Linked DNA regions of Homo sapiens: region 1 is linked to region 2. Evidence: promoter capture Hi-C in 16 types of primary human blood cells and fetal thymus (Javierre and others, 2016). All regions are on one chromosome and are shown on one strand. Each heading gives the region's core, a stretch centred on a gene start or on the middle of the fragment in contact. The rest is flanking DNA. Distances are from core to core; before and after follow the strand shown. Region 1 has its middle 56 kb from the start of HEMK2. Region 2 holds the start of HEMK2 (HemK methyltransferase 2, ETF1 glutamine and histone H4 lysine).

Region 1 (2,847 bases), core at 121-2,620, 56 kb before region 2:
TTGATTTGAGGGGCTTTTCTCCTCTAAAGTGACCTTGAAGCCCTCATTTTAATGCTTCATGTGCCAACAAGAAGTAGAGAATGTAGGTAACTCTAATACGAATGAGGCTCTAAGAACTACTAGGTGAACACTCATAATAGTGGCACCAGTTCCGAACAACACATTTGTAAATAAATTGAAGCAGCCTTCAGTTTTTTCTAAACTAAGAAGCTACTAGACACTAAGCAGGTCAAACAGACCAAAGGCACTTTGGTGACACTTAGCTTAGGTAGCCCTTCGACTGCCAATCCATCATTATCTGAAAGTTCTGCATTGACCAACTGCTGTCAGAAAATGTTCCCTTTCTTCCAGAAATTCCATGCCAGCTCACCTTCCAAAAGTTTCCAGTGGGCTTGTTGATCTTTCACCCAAATAGCCACCTAACACTTTACGAATATCCATCTCTGTGAAGAAACCGACTCAGCTGCAACAACCTGTTTTTTTTAATTCATTAAGCCTTAGAATAGCATCTTTCTTAGTAAAATATAAATGCAATATTTAATAAAACTATATATACAGTGATTATTATAAGCAGGGAGAGGACAGGCTGAAAATGAGTGATTTTAACAAGAGCTTTAACAATTTTTAATAGACCTGCATTCCTTTACATTCCTGGTGTTTCTCAAACTTTAGTGGGTTTAAAGTTCATCTGGGGATTTATAAAAATTGCTGACTTCAAGAGCTCCTCTTAAAATTTCTAATTCTGAAGGCCTGGAGGGATCCTCAACAATCTTCATTTTTAACGATTTTGATGAAGATGGACTGCAGCTGTCTCTTGAGAAATGCTTCTTTAGAACAAGTGAAATTGCTAATTACACAGTAAGCACTTAGTCATCTACCATTACCCAAGTCTTGTTAGTTGTGAGTTGCCCCTTGGTATCTGCTAAGGTTTGAATGTGTCCCTCAGAAAGCATATGTTGGAAACTTAACCTTTAATGCAACAGTGTTTGTTGGGAGGTAGGTTCCAATGAGAGGTAATTAGAACATGAGGGCTCTGCATTTATGAATAGATGAATGTGTGGAAGTAGGTTCCTTATAAAATAAGGTCAGTCACCTTTCCTCTCTCCCATCCTCTTTTTGCCCTCTGACATCCTATGCCTTTCACCATGAGATGACACAGCAAGAAGGTCCCTGATAGATACCAGTGCTTCAATCTTGGACTTCCCAACTAAAGAACTATGAACCAATAAATTTCTGTTCATTACAAATTATCCAGTCTCAGGTATTCTGTTACAGCTGCACAAAACAGACTAAGGCAGTATCCCATTCTCAGCTGCAGCAATTCTTTTTAAGACAAAACTCCATGGATTTTAAGACATCTGAGTAGGGAGAGTTAATTATGTCCTCTCAAAGAGGTATTTTCCCTAGACCAATTAGTTTACAAGAACATACACTCTGTTTCTAAAACTTTGGAAAACAAAGATGTGGTTCATATCAGAGTGAAAATTTCATTGATACCCATTATAATGAACGTGTTTCATTTTGGCAAACTGTCATGAAATGTCCTGTTCATTTGGAGAAAATTCCTGGAAAGATGGTAGGCAGAGGTCCCAACTCCCAATACGGAATCCTAAGAGGGAGAAGATCTGTCTGCTCCCAGTCAGAGAAGGGTGGGCTCTTCCTACACTAAGATCTTAGCCACATTTTGTCTCCCTGAATTCTTGCCAGAGACTAGTCCTCCAGGCTGAGAGTATATCTTATATCTGTATAATTAGATAACAATTATGTTATCTAAAACTGAGAACCCTGGGTATGGTACATCCAGACACTTACGGCAGAAAATATTTGATATGGTTTGGCTCTGTGTCCCCACTCAAATCTCATGTCAAACTGTAATTCCCAATGTTGGGGGAGGGATCTGGTGGGAGGTAATTGGATCATGGGGGCAGATTTCTCCCTTGCTCTTGCGATAGTAAGTTCTCACGAGATCTGATAAATGTTTAAAGGTGTGTGGCACTTCCCCCCCTTCACTCTCTCTCTCTTTCTACCATGGTGAGACGTGCTTGCTTCCCCTTCACCTTCTGCCATGACGGTAAGTTTCCTGAGACCTTCCAGCCATGCTTCCTGTACAGCCTATGGAACTGTGAGTCAATTAAACCTCTTTCTTCATAAATTATCCAGGTCAGGTAGTTCTTTATAGCAGTGTGAGAACAGACTCTACAATATCTTCAAAATGTTGTTTATTTTTTAAAAAAATGTATGGATGGAGGCCAGGCGCGTGGCTCACGCCTGTAATCCCAGCACTTTGGGAGACCAAGGTGGGCAGATCATGAGGTCAAGAGATCAAGACCATTCTGGCTAACATGGTGAAACACTGTCTCTACTAAAAATACAAAAAATTAGCCGGGCATGGTGGCAGGCGCATGCAATCCCAGCTACTTGGGAGGCTGAGGCAGGAGAATCGCTTGAACCCAGGAGGAGGAAGTTGCAGTGAGCCAAGTTCGTGCCACTGCACTCCAGCCTGGGTGACAGAGCAAGACTCCATCTTTAAAAAAAAAAAAAAAAAAGAATGGTATCAGAAAGAATAGAAGGTGAAAGGAAGAAAGGAAATGGAAAATTAGTATTCTATCCATCTGTAGAAAATTTTTTAAAATATGTATTGTCTTTTATTCTGATTTCTTCTGGATTCCACTTTGTAGATTTATGAGCCCAGGACCACTGGTATTCAGTAAAGGAGTAGAAATCAATTTGTAGGGGCAGGAGGGATGCCATGTGTCATAGCTACGCAAACAGAAGAAACTTAGTGATTAAAACTCACAAAAAAGAACAGTATTAGCTGGGAGCTATGGCTCATGCTTATAATCCCAG
Region 2 (3,183 bases), core at 53-2,552:
TAGTAAGGTCTGAGAATCTCACCAGGTGGCTTCTCTTTGAAAATAACTATCATGGTCTCATAAATAATTAGAATTCCAAACTAGAAATAACCCAAGACTTTATAACAAAATCAGCTCCTTTTACAGCATACTTTGCAGTGCAATTTGTGCTTGTAAATCTTTCTGGGCTATCTTGAGAAGAAAAGACAAGTTATAAAACAGTACTGTTCCACTGTATATTCCAGTAGATCCAAAAGTTCCATCATCTACAATGAAAGACTAGTTTAATAAGAGCTGGGACATTTTATACTGGAGAAATATGACCAAGTTTAAGAGGGATAAATAAATACAATATAGATCTTTGAAACCTGAAAGCTGTTTGTTCCATCCTGAGAAAACCCAGTTCATCTTATCTTCAAACAAATCTAACAACCCAAATTCCTTACATTTAAAAATCACAATGTCAGTATTCATTCCTTCTGCTATTAATTTAAAATTGATGGCGATCACTTCAATAAATCCATTTAAATAAAGTGCTAGGGTAGACTATTGTCTGCTAGCTGCATGTAACTTTTTTTTGGTAACAATTAAATGAAAAATTCAGTTCCTCAATAGCACTAGCCACATTTCAAGCGCTCTGTAGCCACATGTGAGGACTGGCTGGTGCTAGAGTATGCTATTCAGTGGGTTTAAAAATATTTCCCCACTCCAGTAACACAACTTTCTTTCATGTTTGTTAAGGGTGCTTTCTATGTGCTGAGTAAATCAAATAATACCATGCAATTTTAATATGTAATACTTTAAAAATATTAATAAGCAATGTTTCCGGAATATTTTGTTTCCAAACGTGTTATACTATCGCTTCTCTCAGGGACATGTGTTCTTCAGATTAACAGGCGACAGGAAAAGATACGCCTTTGCATGGTAAGCAGTCAGGGAGCTCATGAGACAGAGCAGCCCCCTGGCAAAGGAGATGCGTCCCCGGCACACTCATTACTTGTAGCTACAGGAAAATTCTCAATTACGGCGTCCTGGCTGTCAATCATCTGCAAGTGGACCCCGCCTGCTCCGGCTCAGGGCGGTGATAGTCACCGTTCCGGCCCTCCTCCACCGCACTTCTTCAGAAAGCCGCAACCCTTTCCCGTCAGAGCCCCTCCCCTCCTCGCACCCTGCCAGTTCGGCAGCCGCTGCCTCCAGCGCGTCCAAAAGCAGAAACGTGTCCTCCGCGGGCTCGTACACGTCGCTGAAGGCGCCGCGGCCCACGTGCCCGTGGAACGGCGTAGCGAAGTTCTCCCCTGCCATAGTCCTTCGCTGCGTTCCATGCGCGTGCGCAGGGCGTGCGCATGCGCATGCGCATGCCCTCACCCTCATGCGCAGGCCTAGGAGTGGGGCTGGCGTCCCGGGCGACCAGTGTGTTGTTGTTGGGTCTTAATTCTAAATTTGTCAGTGGCTCTCCTTGAAATTGCTAAGTAGACAGTTGTATAATCCGTGACTATTGACATTTGCTTTCTTCTTTGGAACATTTAAATTTTATTCTGTGAACTAGAACCTGATAGTGGGCATTCTGAGTTGTTTTTGACTAAGGTGAATGTTCTTTCTTCATTCTAATGATATTTGGAAATTCTGTTTTATTCCTAGTTTGCAAGGATTTGAAAAAATACATAATAAATTTTACTGTTTTTTTGTCAGCTGAACTTTAAGCTTTACGCTATAAAGATGAAGACTTTCCTCGTTTTTTTACTGTACTTTATAAATTGCCTTCCTGATGAATCATGAATGCACTCTTTTTATAAACCTTAAGCAAGATGATGCGGTTTAATACACTGCTGAATTGGGGAGGCTAATAATCTGGCTCCGTTTTTTTTTACCAAGATTACGCTACCCTCGTTATGTGAGTTAGGACACTGTTTCTGGAACATTAGGTAGAAAGCCTTAAAACTGGCTGGGCTTGGTGCCTTTTTGAGTGAATGGATCTTTGATGTTTTGGAACATCTGTAAGTTATTAGACTATTCAAGTATTTGCATTCTTTTTGAGTCAATTTCTGAAATTTGTTTCGCAATGAAACATTTTTACAGCTCGTTTTTTAAATTTGAGAAATAAAAATACAGAAAAGTATTTGAGGTACAAATTTTATTTTATTTTATTTCTACTTATGTATTTTTTTTTTTTGGAGACAGAGTCTCGCTGTATCCCCCAGGCTGGAGTGCAGTGGCGCGAGCTAGGCTCACTGCAACCTCTGCCTCCCAGGTTCAAGCGGTTCTCCTGCCTCAGCCTCCGGAGTAGCTGGGATTACAGGCGCCTGCAGCCACGGCTGCCTAATTTTTGTATTTTTAGTAGAGACGGATTTTCCCCATGTTGGCCAGGCTGGTCTCAAACTGCTGACTTCAGGTGATCCACCCGCCTTGGGCTCTCAAAGTGCTGAGATTACAGGTGTGAGCCTTTAACGCACCCGGCTGGGTTACAAATTTCAAAACCCCAAGTTTTAAACCCAGAAATGACAGTATTTTCTCATGTTTCCTTAAAATATTTTTTAAATACAAGAACTAAAATATTACAAATAAGATGGATGTTCTTTCTCTATTTGCCTTCAGTTTAATTGTGTAACATTCTCTCCAAGGCTCTTATGGATTTAGTGTATGTCCATCTAATCCATGTAAAAACATGGATCTTGTATTTATACGTTTATAAACATTCATATCTTTATAAGCAACATACGGTGTATTTTAAAATTTACATAACTGGTACTAGGTTGGACATATTTTTCAAATTTCTTTTTCAGTCAACATTATATGAGATTTATGTTTTGATATATGGTTAGGTTACTCCTCTTAACTGCCATATAGAATTTTATTATGTAAAAATATGAAAAATATATATATATAGAAAGAGTTGTACTTGATCTCCTGGGTTCAAGCGATCCTCCTCCCTCAGCCTCCTGAGTAGCTGGAACTGGAACCATAGGTGCTCTCGCACCCAGTATTAGGAATATACAAATGTCTTTTTATCCAAAAATACAAAATAAATTATCTGTAGGCATGGACAGTGACAGCAGTAAAACATTATATATTTTGTCACTTGAAACCAGTAACTGATTGTTATAGTGATTTCCTAAACATCTGCTAGCCTTTTCTTCAGTCGTTTTCTCCAGCTGACTTCTCTGAAGTTATTGGTGAGGAATACTGCCTTGGGCTTCCTGCCACAGT

The links. Contacts are between HindIII fragments. The CHiCAGO score rates a contact against its expected background, and 5 or more counts as called.
Region 1: a contact is called between a fragment that was not itself captured here and the fragment with the promoter of HEMK2 in region 2, in 1 of 17 cell types (non-activated CD4 T cells). The highest score is 5.1, in non-activated CD4 T cells.

The regions. Positions count from the first base shown.
Region 1 is chr21:28,828,350-28,831,196 of GRCh38, forward strand. It overlaps a transcript of HEMK2 not described here. Among named protein-coding and RNA genes, the nearest start is that of HEMK2, 56 kb to the right of the region's middle. The HindIII fragment of the contact is 4,724 bases long and covers 1-2,847 here.
Region 2 is chr21:28,884,065-28,887,247 of GRCh38, forward strand. HEMK2 (HemK methyltransferase 2, ETF1 glutamine and histone H4 lysine) reads right to left here and starts at 1,303. Exons shown (of 6, transcript NM_013240.6): 1 at 1,148-1,303. The coding sequence starts at 1,281. It also overlaps the pseudogene HSPD1P7. RefSeq lists enhancers at 602-1,161, 1,157-1,216, 1,162-1,720. The HindIII fragment of the contact is 10,284 bases long and covers 1-1,678 here.